3 separate regions of the Homo sapiens genome follow, and regions 1 and 3 are each linked to region 2. Evidence: promoter capture Hi-C in 16 types of primary human blood cells and fetal thymus (Javierre and others, 2016). All regions are on one chromosome and are shown on one strand. The core of a region is centred on a gene start or on the middle of the fragment in contact, and the rest is flanking DNA. Distances in the headings are between cores, read along the strand shown.

The links. The method cuts DNA at HindIII sites, captures the fragments that hold promoters and counts their contacts. A CHiCAGO score of 5 or more calls a contact.
Region 1: a fragment that was not itself captured here is called in contact with the fragment with the promoter of SLC41A2 in region 2 in 4 of 17 cell types (total B cells, total CD8 T cells, activated CD4 T cells and 1 more); the score reaches 5.2 in total B cells.
Region 3: a contact is called between a fragment that was not itself captured here and the fragment with the promoter of SLC41A2 in region 2, in 10 of 17 cell types (total B cells, naive B cells, non-activated CD4 T cells and 7 more). The highest score is 10.1, in total B cells.

What each region holds. Positions count from the first base shown.
Region 1 is chr12:104,417,729-104,422,063 of GRCh38, reverse strand. No RefSeq gene overlaps it. Among named protein-coding and RNA genes, the nearest start is that of CHST11, 37 kb to the left of the region's middle. The HindIII fragment of the contact is 1,996 bases long and covers 729-2,724 here.
Region 2 is chr12:104,955,896-104,960,245 of GRCh38, reverse strand. It overlaps SLC41A2 (solute carrier family 41 member 2), which reads left to right and starts at 1,956. Exons shown (of 11, transcript NM_001352171.3): 1 at 1,956-2,158. RefSeq lists silencers at 1,778-2,047, 2,238-2,567. The HindIII fragment of the contact is 5,296 bases long and covers 862-4,350 here.
Region 3 is chr12:104,435,212-104,440,071 of GRCh38, reverse strand. No RefSeq gene overlaps it. Among named protein-coding and RNA genes, the nearest start is that of CHST11, 19 kb to the left of the region's middle. RefSeq lists an enhancer at 3,742-3,911. The HindIII fragment of the contact is 817 bases long and covers 2,485-3,301 here.

The sequences.
Region 1 (4,335 bases), core at 477-2,976, 540 kb after region 2:
GATGGAAAGGAAATTGGAGAAAGTCAATGATAACCCTTGGGCTGCCCCTGATAAATTCTGCTGCCTCCCAGGTGTGGAAGAATTGGTGATGAAGGTAGAATTTCCAGAAGATATATTTGCCTAAGGCTTCTGGGTACTAGAAATGCCTGAATCTAAAGCAACTATCTCATTCACGCTTTTATCATGGCCCATGAAATTATTTTCCCTGGTGGCAATTGGGAGAGTAAACAAATATGTTGCCAGAAGCAAAGGTGTAACAACTATTGGATCAGAATCAGACAAAGCCGGGCTTGAGTCCTCACCTAATGGCTTAGAGGCCATCATTTCTCTGAGCCTTAGGGGACAATAACAATATCCTAAAGGCTGGTGAAGATAAAATTAATAATAGTTAACATTTGAGCACTTACCAGGCACATGCACCATCTCGAGTGGTTTACATGGACCAGCTCATTTAATCCTCACAACCCACTATGGTAAGTGCTGTTATGATCTCCCTTGCACTGATAAGGAAACTGAAGCACAGAGATGTTAAGTGAGTTCTCCAGGGTCACACAGCTGTGAATCTAACCTCTATCCTATAAACTGTAGATAACTTACAGAACCAAAAAGTGACTGAGGCAGCTGTCTTAATCATTTAGAGGTTTATTTAGCCAAGGTTGAGGACACACCAGGGAAAAACACACAAGTCACCAAGGTACGTGTGACCTATGCTTTTCCCAAAAGAAGCTTTGGGAACTACAGTGTTTACAGGGGAGAGAACAAGCAGGAGGGGAAAAAAGGGAGGGAGGGTAGACAGTGAGGCAGACGGTTACATTTTTATAAGGCTCTGGTTAGCCTCCATAAATCTACATTTTACATGCTAAAAGAGAATAGAGGAAAAAATCATTTATGCATTGTCTTGTGCTCAGTAAATCTATATTTTACCTAAGGTAAAGTAAACATGTGAAAGGTGAGAGGACAGGAAATGTGGCTATGACAGGGGTTGTGAAATTACAGCTATCTGTTTGAGAACAAAAGGAAGACAGCGTTGGTGACTCAGTTCCTAGGCTTAACTTTCCCTTTGGCATGGTGAGTTTGGGGTCCTGAGAGTCTATTTTTCTTTCACATTTACAAATGTTAGTTAATGGTAATTATTTATCAAGGCCTGTTACACTGCAGGAAGTTTTTTTATTATTATTTATTTATTTATGTATTTTATTTTTTGAGACAGTCTTGCTCTGTCACCCAGGCTGGAGTGCAATGGCGTGATCTCAGCTCACTACAACCTCCACTCCCCAGGTTCAAGCAATTCTCCTGCCTCAGCCTCCTGAGTAGCTGGGATTACAGGTGCATGCCACCATGCCCAGCTAATTTTTGTATTTTTAGTAGAGATGGGGTTTCACCATTTTGGCTGATCTCGAACTCCTGACCTTGTGATCCATCTACCTCGGCCTCCCAAAGTGCTGGGATTACAGGCCAGGAGGTTTATTTGTATTATTTCTAATTCTTAATACAATGCCAAGAGGTAGAAATCAAATCACTCCTTTTTACAGATGAGAGAACTGACTTCTAGAGAGCTAGGAGCTAGGTACAGAGCTGGGAGGCAACCAAAAAATTCAAGCCCAGCTCTGTCGCATCCCATACCTCTCCATTCCAAACAGGCCTTTCTGAGGAAAGATCCAGAAGCTGAACTGAAGACCTTAGATTCTGGATAAGAATTTACCTTCCATTGTTTAACGAGTATAGAGTTTCAGTTTTACAGGATGAAAAGAGTTATGGAGCTAGATGGTGGTGATATTTTTACAATACTATGAATGTATTTAATACCACTGAAATGCACATTTAAAAATGGTTAAGATGATAAATTTTATGTAACATGTATTTTAACACAATAAAAATGGAAAAAAATTACTTTCCATAATTCCCTCTACTACTCTGAGAGAAGAAATAATTTTGGCTCCTTCTAAAATCTGAAAGAAAAGAGAGAAAAAGCACATATAAGTAATGAGAGAAATAGTTTGGCATTTTCAATATCCCCAAACCATGATAATGATAATAGTTTTTAAGCAGCAAAACCCCTTCCAGGGGATAAAACAATCAGTGTCCCAATAAGGTAGATGGATGTAGCCAACTACTCAATTATTTGACCTTTGTCTTCTTGGACAAAGGTCCAGTGCTTCTTGTCCAGCATTGAGCTCCCTCTAACCCAGGGCCTGCTGGTCACTTAGGGCAGCAGGTATCACACTCCAGCATGCACAAGTCTCTTGGAGATGCTGATTAAACACAGATTTCTGGAAATCACGTATCTTTACCAAGACTTGTACGTGAACATTTATAGTAACTTTATTCATAATAGTCATAAACTGGAAACACCCACATGTCTAATAAATAGACCAACTGTGGTACATGCTAGAGTACTCCTGAGCGATAGAAAGAACAAACTTGGAATCTACACAACAGTATGGATAAATCACAACAACATTAGGCCATGCCAAAAAACCCAGATATGAAAAGATGCATCCTATGTGATATCACTTATGTGAAATTCTACAACAGGTGAACTAATCTATGGTGATAGCAGGCAGATCAGCGCGTATCTTGGGCTGGGGTGGGGAGGTTAGAAGGGAAACTGACTGCAAATGGATACAAGGGGATCGCGTGGGGTGAGGAAAAAGTTTTATGTTTTGATTACGGTAGTGATTACATGGTTGTATACATTTGTCAAAACTCACAGAACTGTAAGCTTAAAAAGGACACCTTTTATTGCATGTAAATTATACATGAATAAAATTGATTTTTAAAGCAAAAAAAAAACAGATCCTGGGCTGCATTTCCAAAGATCCTGATTCAATGGACCTGGGTGAGGCCCAGGAATATTTATTTATTTATTTATTTATTTTTGAGATGGAGTCTTGCACTGTTGCCTGGGCTGGAGTGCAGTGGTGCAATCTCGGCTCACTGCAACCCCTGCCTCCCAGGTTCGTGCGATTCTCCTGCCTCAGCCTCCCAAGTAGCTGGGACTACAAGCACCCGCCACCACGCCCGGCTAACTTTTTGTATTTTTAGTAGAGACGGGGTTTCACCGTGTTAGCCAGGATGGTCTCGATCTCCTGACCTCATGATCCACCTGCCTTGGCCTCCCAAAGTGCTGGGATTATAGGCATGAGCCACCGTGCCCAGCCCAGGAATCTTTATTTTTAATAAAGTACCTTATGTGATTCTAATGCAGGTAGTCAAAGGCCACACTTAGAGAATCATTACCCTGGAGGGTTTAAGGAAGACCAAATCCAGGGTCCCTAGAAACGGTTATATCTAATTGTTAACCTTTCCCTTCTTGTACCTGCAAACCTTTGCCTTGTCAGTCAATAAATATTTATTGAACTGTTGAGGACTATGAACAACACTTGGCTTTGTGGTAGAAAGACAACATACTATTTATTTCAGCAAACTAGGTGAAGAGGTAGGACTGCTTCATTAAAAGAGGAATTAGTAGTCCAATTATCTTCCTATTCCTTTCTGTCATTGTTGTTCTTAACCTCAAGGGCACAGAGTCCTTGGTTTATGACACCTTCCCATCATTGATCCATGAAAGGCTCTCTTTTACTTAAATAATTTATTTTAGTATTAAGAATTTAAATGTAAGGCGAGGTGCAGTGGCTCATGCCTGTAATCTCTGCACTTTGGGAGGCTAAGGTGGGTGGATCACCTGAGGTCAGGAGTTCTAGACCAGCCTGGCCAACATAATGAAACCCCATCTCTACTAAAAATACAAAAAATTAGCTAGGCACTGTGGCATGTGCCTGTAATCTCAGCTACTTAGGAGGCTGAGGCAAGAGAATCACTTGCTCCCGGGAGGCGGAGGTTGCAGTGAGCTGAGATCGTGCTACTGTGCACTCCAACTTGGGCAACAAGAGCAAAACTCCATCTCAAAAAAAAAAAAAAAGAATTTAAATGTAAAAAACAAAACTTGGCTAGGTGCGGTGGCTCACACCTGTAATCCTAGCACTTTGGGAGGCTGAGGCAGGCAGATCATCTGAGGTCAGGAGTTTGAGACCAGCCTGGCCAACATGATGAAACCCCATCTCTACTAAAAATACAAAAATCAGCCAGGTGTGGTGGCACACACCTGTAATCCCAGCTATTCTGGAGGCCGAGTCAGGAGAATAACTTGAACCCGGGGGTGGAGGTTGCAGTGAGCCAAGATCACGCCACTGCACTCCAGCCTGAGCAACAGAGTGGGACTCTGTCCCAAAAAAGCAAAACAAACAAAACTTGAAAACTTTTAAGAAAAAAATAGGTTAACATTTTAATTTCAGGGTAAGAAAAGATTTTTCTTAAGACACATAAAGCATCAAC
Region 2 (4,350 bases), core at 707-3,206:
GCACAGACACGCTCCTTTGTTATACACTCTCATAACTCTCAGGCTTTTTTCCAGCAATCACAACAGCATCACCACACAGCCTCAAGTCCAAGCCACTTGCTTCACATTTGAAGTTGCCAGCTGTCAGACGGGAGATGAAGTAGAAATGGGATTGTTGTTGTCTGCACCCATTAGGACCCAGTTTTTTACAAGGGGGCATTTCCTCGCCCGATTCCAATGTGAGTTATTTTCAGGGCTGAAATTTGATTTAAATTTGGATTCCAACTTGAAGCTTAACATATCTCCAAAGTACACACTACTTTGCGGTACTGAATGAAGAATGTAAGTAGAAGGTTGCCTGCCACATGCCATGTAATGCTCTGAAGGACGGTAGAAACCACCAGCTCTCTCAGAAAAAAATGGTGGAAGAATTTTCAAAACCAAGACAGGCTGGCTTCTGTATATGCTTTGTGTAGAAATCTTGAAAGACTACACACTCAGGGGAGGAACACATATTGGGTGGAACTTCTGCCAAACTTTCAAGAGCAGCTACTTTCTAATGATCTGTAATTCAAAAAACAACCAGAACAAAAACCAGCTGGAAATGCAGTCAAAACACTGCTTTTCCATATTCCTTGCAATTATACTTTCATTTTTAGGTGGTGAGGAACACCAGGATGAGTCATTATAAAAAGCATGACTGCAGATGGCCAAGAGTGATACCGAAGCACCCTTCACCCTGAAGGTTAAGGTTAAAGCTCAAAGTCTGATCGCAAAGCATAAGGAAAAAAAAAAAGAACATGGATAAATGTATGCTGGTGTCCTTCAGCACCAGAAAAGCTGCTACTAAATCACTGGTGTGGCTTGGAATTGGTAGAAGCTTTGATTTGAGGAAAAGAGTATCATTAGCTGTGTAATTTTGAGTTGTTGTTTTAGAGACAAGGTCTCATTTTGTGGCCCAGACTGGAGTGCAGTGATGCGATCATAGCCCGCTGCAGCCTTGAACTCCTGGGCTCAGGCGATCCTCCCACCTCAGTCTCCTAGCCACTCCAGGTCTCGCTGTGTTTGCCCAGGCTGGTCTCAAATTCCTGGCCTCAAGCGATCCTCTCGCCTGGTCCTCCCGAAGTGTTGAGGTTACACGCATGAGCCACCAATCCTGGCATTATGGCATTAGCTGTGTAATTTTTAAAATAACTGTCTTCGGACCAACACCTTTCTTTTGTTCACTGGAGTATCCCTGGGGTGTGTCTCATTCCCTGAATCATACACAGTAGATGCTCAATAGTTTTGTAAATAAAATAAATGAGCTCTCGGATTTACATGCAGACTTTGGATCAGTTTGATCTAGGTTTAAAAGCAAGTGTGGGGAAACTTGAAAAGCCTGGCACCCCAGCCAACTCTTCAGCGCCCCATGCGCTTGGCGCCTACACCTGCCTGGCACGGGGAGGGTGCTATGGGGCTGCCCTAAACCTCACCCCCTCCTGCGGTGGTTCCTGCCCGTCTCGGCTCCTGCACCGCCCACACTATGCGCTGCTGGGCCGAAAGACACGTGGTTCGGTTTTAACTCCAGTCTGCAAGAAACATGACCTCAGCCAAAAAGAGGCCGCTGGTCTGAGAAGAGAAATCATGAGTCATGGATTCGGGGGTTCGGACCTTGGAGCAGGCGGTGAAGTGGGCGTGCGTGGGCTGGTGGGGAAGAGGGATGCCGAAGGAGGCCACAGCCCTTCTCTCCTGGGCAGGCTCCCCAGAAAACTGCCCCCTTGCCGTCATCCAGCGCCCCCGTTCCCGACAGCTGTCTGCCAGGGCGCGGCCGGGGTCCGGGCGGGGCGGTGCTGTCGCTCCGGGTCGCCGCCCCGCGGGCCACATCACCAAGGCCCGGGCTTCCCCGGCGGCGGCGCGGCTGCGCTTGCGCGGGGCTGCCGCGCGGGGGCGGGGCGGCGGGGAGTCAGGGGGCCGCGGGCGCCGACGGCCGGGCTGTCAGCTTGGGGCCGCAGCCGCGCGAGGAGGCGCGGGAGCAGGAAGGAGCTGTGGGCTGGGAGCCGCTGTCCTCCCCGCCACCACCGGTGCCGGGCACCAGGTGAATGCCCCTTCCATCCCCCGCCCCTGGTGTCTCGGTCTGGTCTGAGGAGACGGGGACCCTTCTCACACCGGCCGCTGCCGCCGCCGCGCTCCGGAACAGGTGACCATGGAGGGGAAGTCTCGGCTTCGGCCGCGGCGCCGCGTTCGGGCGCATCAGGTGCGGGAGGGAGGTGGGGCCGAGAGGCCTGGGCTCGGGACCCGGCGGCGGGGGCGCGGGGAGCAGAGGGAGCGGCCCCGCCCGAGCAGCCGTGCCCCCTGCGGACGCCTCTCCGGGCCGCCGGGCAGCGCCCGAGCCCAGGCCCCCGCGCCTGCCCCACCTCGGGCTGAGGGAAGCTGTTCCGCGGCCACCGCGGACAAGCGGTCCCGGGCGCCCAAGGCAGGGACAGGCGGCGGGTGGTGTATGAGTGATGGCTGAAGGTGAGCTGGGATGGAGATGCTGCGAGGCTGGCTCGGGCACACCCCAGATGCCTGTTCAGGGCTCCGCGAGTGCCCCGTCACCCTTTTCTTTCATTCTTCTCTTTATATACACGGAGCATATCTCAAATTTAAAAGCCCAAATGCTCATTTACAGAGAGAGATGACACATATCTATGTGTTACCGATATACATTGATGTGTATATTACGTATATATGTCATCTTTTTTTTGTAGTGACAATTTTTAAATTGAGATATACATCACATGCCATAAAACTCATTCTTCTAAAGTGTGGCTTTTAATATATTCACAGAGTTTTCCAAATATGACCACTATCCAGATCATCATCCCCAAAAGAAACCCTGTCTCTCTTAGTAATCACTCCTCATTTCCCCTTGACCCCACCCCACTAGCCACCACTAATCTACTTTCTGTTTATATGGGTTTGCCTGTTGTGGAAATCTCATATAAATGGAAGCGTACAATATGTGGCTTTTTGTGTCTGGCGTCGAAAGACATACTGTAATGTTTTCAAGTTTCACTCATGTAGTATGTATCAGTACTTTACTTTTTATAGCATATTAATATTGTTGTATCAGTGTACCACATTTGTTTATTCATCAGTTGATGTACATTTGGGTTGTTTCCAGTTTTTGGCCATTGTGTGTAATGCTGCTATGCACATTTGTTTACACGTTTTTGTGGACATGTGTTTTCAGTGCTCTTGGGTATATACCTAGGAGGGCAATTGCTCCGTGTTTCACTTTTTGAGGAACTGCCAAGCAAAGCAGCTGTACCATTTTACTTTCCCACTAAGCAGTGTATGAGGGTTCCGATTTCTTCACATCTTCCCCAAGGCTTGTTACTTTTTTACTGGTTATTTTTTATGATAGCCATCGTAGTGAGTGTGGAATGGTATCTCTTTGTGGTTTTGATTTGCATTTCTCTAATGATTGGGGATGCTGAGCATCTTTTCATGTGCTTATTGGCCATTCATATATTTTCTTTGGAGAAAATGTTCATATCTTTTACCCATATTTTAATTGGGTTGCTTGGCTTTTTATTTTTATTTATTTATTTATTTATTTATTTGGAGACTGACTCTCAGTCTGTCACCCAGGCTGGAGTGCAGTGGCACAATCTTGGCTCACTGCAACCTCCACCTCCGGGGTTCAAGCGATTCTCCTGCCTCAGCCTCCCAAGTAGCTGGGACTACAGGCACACACCACTATGCCCGGCTAATTTTTGTATTTTTAGTAGAGACGTGGTTTCACCATGTTGGCCAGGTTGGTCTCCAACTCCTGAATTCAAGTGATCTGCCCACCTCGGCTTCCCAAAGTGCTGGGATTACAGGCATAAGCCACCACGGCCAGTCTGGGTTGCTTAGCTTTTTATTGAGTTTTATTGTTCATTTATGGAAAAAAATTTCTGTTAATAGGTTTGGATACTGGCACTGACTTGAAAAAATCCAACCAATCTGATACCGAAAAACTTAATGCTTATTCTTGGGTAAAGGTTGAATAAGTGCCACTTCATTCTTTAAGAATACCCTACCTGTTCATTCTGGACATCTTACTGACCCCTTTACATTTACTGCCCTGGTATTTTGAGCAAAGCTACAGAAGGCATATTCCTGACTGGAGTCAAGAGAGACCACCCTTAATTGGTATTTTCATATATTCTATGCTCAATTTGAAAATCCCAGTTATCACTTTAATTACAAAAAATTTATATTAGTGGCCAGCTGAACAAACTAACAATAAATGGCAAGCACAAATCACTCAAAAATTTATGTTTAACTTCTCAGTAAAGTGGAGAATCTTGTTTTCTTAAGTTTGTGCAGTGTAGTTTTTATTACAATTATGTTCATGTGTGG
Region 3 (4,860 bases), core at 1,644-4,143, 520 kb after region 2:
TTGTTGACCATTGCACATGAAAATTGCATAGTTATGTGTGAGTGTATGTCTCAGCACAGACAAATAACATCCTAAGCACACATTACATTCCTCAGTAGACTTAGGAACTTTTTATTAAGCTTTCTTTTTTATTCATTATCCTTAATACAATCCACAAATCCTCATAAAGAAATTATATTTATATATAGATCCGTAAAAAAAATTCCCAGTTTTGGCTTGACCATGGAGAATAAGGTGTTTGTCCATTTGTGTCTAGGTGGGTCAAATGTAAATAACTTCAGCACTAAAAGTTTAACCAGTGAGAAAATATTCCCTGAAATCCAGGGGCCATTCCATAAATTGATGCCTGTGAAACACTGGCCTAGTAGATCTGAGAAGCACCTGCCAGGGCTAATAGACCAGGATTTTTCAGATGGAGTTCACTCCAGGCAGGTGTCAGGATCAGAAAGCTCTTTTTTGATGCTGCAGTTTCATGTTTCTTAGATCGTATTGTTAGTGGTGAAAATTATCCAACTCACATGGTACCAAAATATGTTATCGGCAGCAAATTTGTAGGGGTCTGCAGCAACCTCAATTTTTGCCTCCTCAGAAGAAAGAATTCGACTAAGGGGCAGAAGGCAGAAGGAGAGACTGGGGCAAGCTGTAGAGCAGGAATGAAAGTTGATTAAAAAGCTTTACCGCAGAAACAAAAGGCAGGAAAATACATTTGGAAGAGGGCCAAGCGGGCAACGTGAAAGGCAAGTGCACGGTTTGACCTTTGACTTGGGGTTTTATATGTTGGCATACTTCCAGGGTCTTGCGTTCCTTCTCCCGATTCTTCCCTCGGGGTGGGCTGCTGGCGCTTGAGAGGGGAGCGTGCGCAGTGTGTTTACTAGAGTTGTACCCATGCTCACTTACAGTGTTACTCCTTTACCAGTCCAATGTCCCTAGGAGGTCATGTGCCAGTTAAACTCCGCCATTTTCCCCCTTAGTGCTCATGTGTGAGCCCAGTCTCCCAACTCCTGAGATCTTATCGGGTAGCTACTGATAATCAGTTTCAGGTTTTTCTTTTCTATAGGGAGACTGCCTTTTTCTGGGGCTGGCTGCAACCAATTATTATTTTAGAGAGACAGTTAACCACCTGACCATCACCTGATGGCCACCTGACATTCCTGCTTGGGTTGGAGCGGGGCCTCTCCTGCCCTGCTCATGTCTGACTAGCTACTCACTGGAACAGGGAGACACATACACACACACAAAGTGGAAGATGTTTTCAGAGAGTTACTCTGGAGTACTTTGAGGAAAATGAAATGGGGTTATGTGATCGAAGCTGGCTGGTGCAGAAACACTGCCTTAGAAAGGGTGGTCAAGGGAAGGCCCAGTAAGGATCTGACATTTGGGCCAAAACTGGAATAATGAGAAGTCAGCCATGTGCAAATCTGGAGGGTGCATCTCAGGGGCAGAGAGTGGCAGCACAAAGGCTCTAAGGCAGGGATAAGCCTGGTGTATTCAAAGGACATTAGAAGAGGCCAGAATGGCTACATTGTGTTGAACATGGTCGAGGAGGTGGGGTCAAATAGCAGGCAGGGGCCCAGTAGCCTAGAGTTTACAACCCAGATACGGCAGGAACTTTTGGCCATTCCTACTAACCCCAATATCTGGTCTATTCTTTCATAGCAATAAAACTTCCAAGTTTTAGCTAAGCACATGACTTCCTACAATAAAAACTACATCTCCCAGCCTCTCTTATAGTTAGGTGATGTAGTCATGTGACTAAGTTCTGCCAGTGAAGTCTTAGCAAAATTACCTTGCTTAAAAGATAGCTAGTATATGCTCTCTGCCCCTTCTTTTCCATGCCTCCTTCCTACAGGGGTCCTGCCACTTGGACCCATGATGCAATGACTGGTGCTTTTGCTGTCGTATTGTGTCATGAAGAGGTAGATCACATCCAGGGATGGTGGAACAATGACCTGAAAGGTGCCTGCATCCCCGAGGAGTTCATGGAGTTTAGATACACTAGGAAGTCTGGACTACCTACCTCCCTCTCTACCAGAGGAAGAAATAAGCAAAGTAGATTTCTATTTTTTTAAGTCACAGTTATTTTGGGTCTCTGTTACCCTCAATTAAACAATAGCTGCCTTTGCTATTGATAGCCACAATAAAGAATATGGGTGCCACCTAAGTTTTTGGCTTGAGCAATTGAATAGGTGTTGCCATTTAAGGAAGTGGTAAAGACTAAGGGGAAAAAAACCAAAAACAAGATTTGGGTGAAAATCAAGAGTTATCTTTTGGTTATGCTGGAGCTGAGATGCTATTATACATCCAAGAGGATCTATAGACAGGCAGGCAGCTGAATATTTGAGTTTGAAGCTTGGGAGTGGGGAGGAGGCAGAGCTGAAGGCATAAGTTTTGAAGCCACTGTAGGTTGAGATGTCTCAAGAGTCATCAGCAGCACCATGTCCTCCAAGGGGGGGATGACCTTGCCTTGGCTGTGAAAGGTAAGCTTCATGTTATACCACAAATTCTTGGAAAAAAATGGAATTTTGGTAAATCAAATTTCATTATACCTATACTGGACAAACTTGCTATTTCAAAACATCCTTTCATTAATTATTTCAAGAAGTCTAAGTTTTCTTTCTGCCACTTCTTCTTTTACTTGTTTAGTTTGTCCAAATTTTGGTATTTGGGTCTTTTTTTTTCCAAGCATTCTTGCATTTTCTTTCCTGTAAATGAAAGTGTCAAAAAGATATTTATACTGTTACAGTAGGTAGCTAGTCAGACATGAACAGGGCAGGAAAGGCCCCCCACCCACCACCAGGAATGTCAGGGGACCATCAGGTGATGGTCAGGTGGTTCTTAACTGTCTCTCTAAAATAATAATTGGTCCAGCCAGTGCCAGGGAAACGCAGTCGTCCTATCAAAGGGAAAAACCTGAAACTGGTGATCAGTAGCTTCCTGGTAAGATCTTAGCAGTTGGGTGAGTGGGCTCACACATGTGCCCTAAGAGGTAAAGTGGTGGAGTTTAACTGGAATATGACCTCCTAAGGGACATTGGGCTGGTAAGGGAAGAACGTCTCGAGTGAGCATGGGTACAACTCCAGTAAACACACTGCGCATGCTCCACTCCCAAGCACTGGCAGCCACTGCTCATGCGGACAGGACAGCCCATCCCAAGGGGAGAATCAGGAAAGAAGAGACGTAAGACCCCAGAAGCATGCCCACATATAAAACCCCAAGTCGAAAGGTCAAACTTGTCTTTTAAGTCACCCACTTAATCCTCTTCCAAGTATACTTTCCTTCCTTTTGTTTCTGCAGTGAAGCTTTTTTTTTTTTTTTTTTTTTTTTTTTTTTTTTTTTTTTTTGAGACAGAGTCTCACTCTGTCGCCCAGGCTGGAGTGCACGGGCATGATCTCGGCTCACTGCAACCTCTGCCTCCCGGGTTCAAGCGATTCTCCTGCCTCTCAGCCTCCCAAGTGGCTGGGATTACAGGTGCATGCCACCACGCCCAGCTAATTTTTGTATTTTTGGTAGAGACAGGGTTTCACCATTTTGGCCAGGCTGGTCTTGAACTCCTGACCTCAGGTGATCCGCCTGCCTCAGCCTTCCAAAGTGCTGGGATTGCAGGTGTGAGCAACCGCGCCCGGCCAGCAAAGCTTTTCAATAAACTTTCACTCCTGCTCTAAAACTTGCCTCAGTCTCTCCTTTTACTGTCTGCCCCTTGGTCAAATTCTTTCTTCTAAAGAGGCAAGAACTGAGGTTGCTGCAGACCCCTACAGATTCGCCTCTGGTAACATCCCAACTCAAGAACATAAGCTTCATCAGGCCAGGGACCTCAGCTGTTTTGTTTAGAGTTAATTCTCCACACTGGCATAGAGTTGGTACTCCATAAATACTTGTTAAATAAATGAATGAGCTTATCAATTAGTTTTTCTCATCAACACATTTGAAATTGAATTTATCAATTTGTTTTATCATTAGTATTCCTGAGCTTCCCACGGAGATGCTACTGCTGTCTTTGGACAATTTCTTTGCTGCTGAGATAAGGAAAGGACTCATTTTCCCTGAGGCCTCATCAGGAGAGGAGGGAGAAGACTTCAAAGGAAGCTCCGACTTCACTGCCTGAACTGGCCCTAAAGGAAAGGGGAAGAGAAAGATCAGGAAGGTTTTTGCAGCCTTTTGTGCTACCATGCTGTCTGGAAGTTTCTGAGCTGGGTCTCTGGGTGGCGGCTGCAGCTCCTGGGCAAGGTGGGCTGTAGCAGTCAAGACCAGTCTCCTTCCTAGTTCTACCACTTACTGGCTGTGTCAGTGTAGCATTAGGCAAGTCCCTTAAACACTCAGTGCCTCAGTTTCCACATTTGTAAGTTGACACAAATAGTGACAGCTCCTTCATCACAGGCTGTTGTGTTGATTAAATTAGTTAAAATATGTAAAGTGCCTTTTAAGCTGAATATATAATAAGCTTTCAGTCAATGAAATCGTTATTCTTAGACGCCAGGCACTTCGAGTATACTTTCTCTAAGTCTCCCAGATAACCTTGAAAAGGTAGCCATTTAACTGACAAAATAGAGGCTTGGAGAGAGCAAGTTTTTTGGCCCGAAGAACTCCAGGGCTCCTTATACCTAATCACCCCCGTAATGTGGCTGAACCCCCTGAAAACCACCTGGAATAAGTTCTGGTTTCAGGGGCAGGACTACCGTCTTGATGTGCTAACTCAGCAGGTATGACCTGAGTGGCCATCACACTGGCTTATTTGGCTAAAACAAAAGTTCTTAACTTGTACTAAGACTTTACCCTGAGCTTAACCCTGGGATAGGCACTGCAGATGCCAAAGGTGCAGGAAATCAGCCCTTGCCCTGAGGAAGCTCACAGATCACGGGGGAG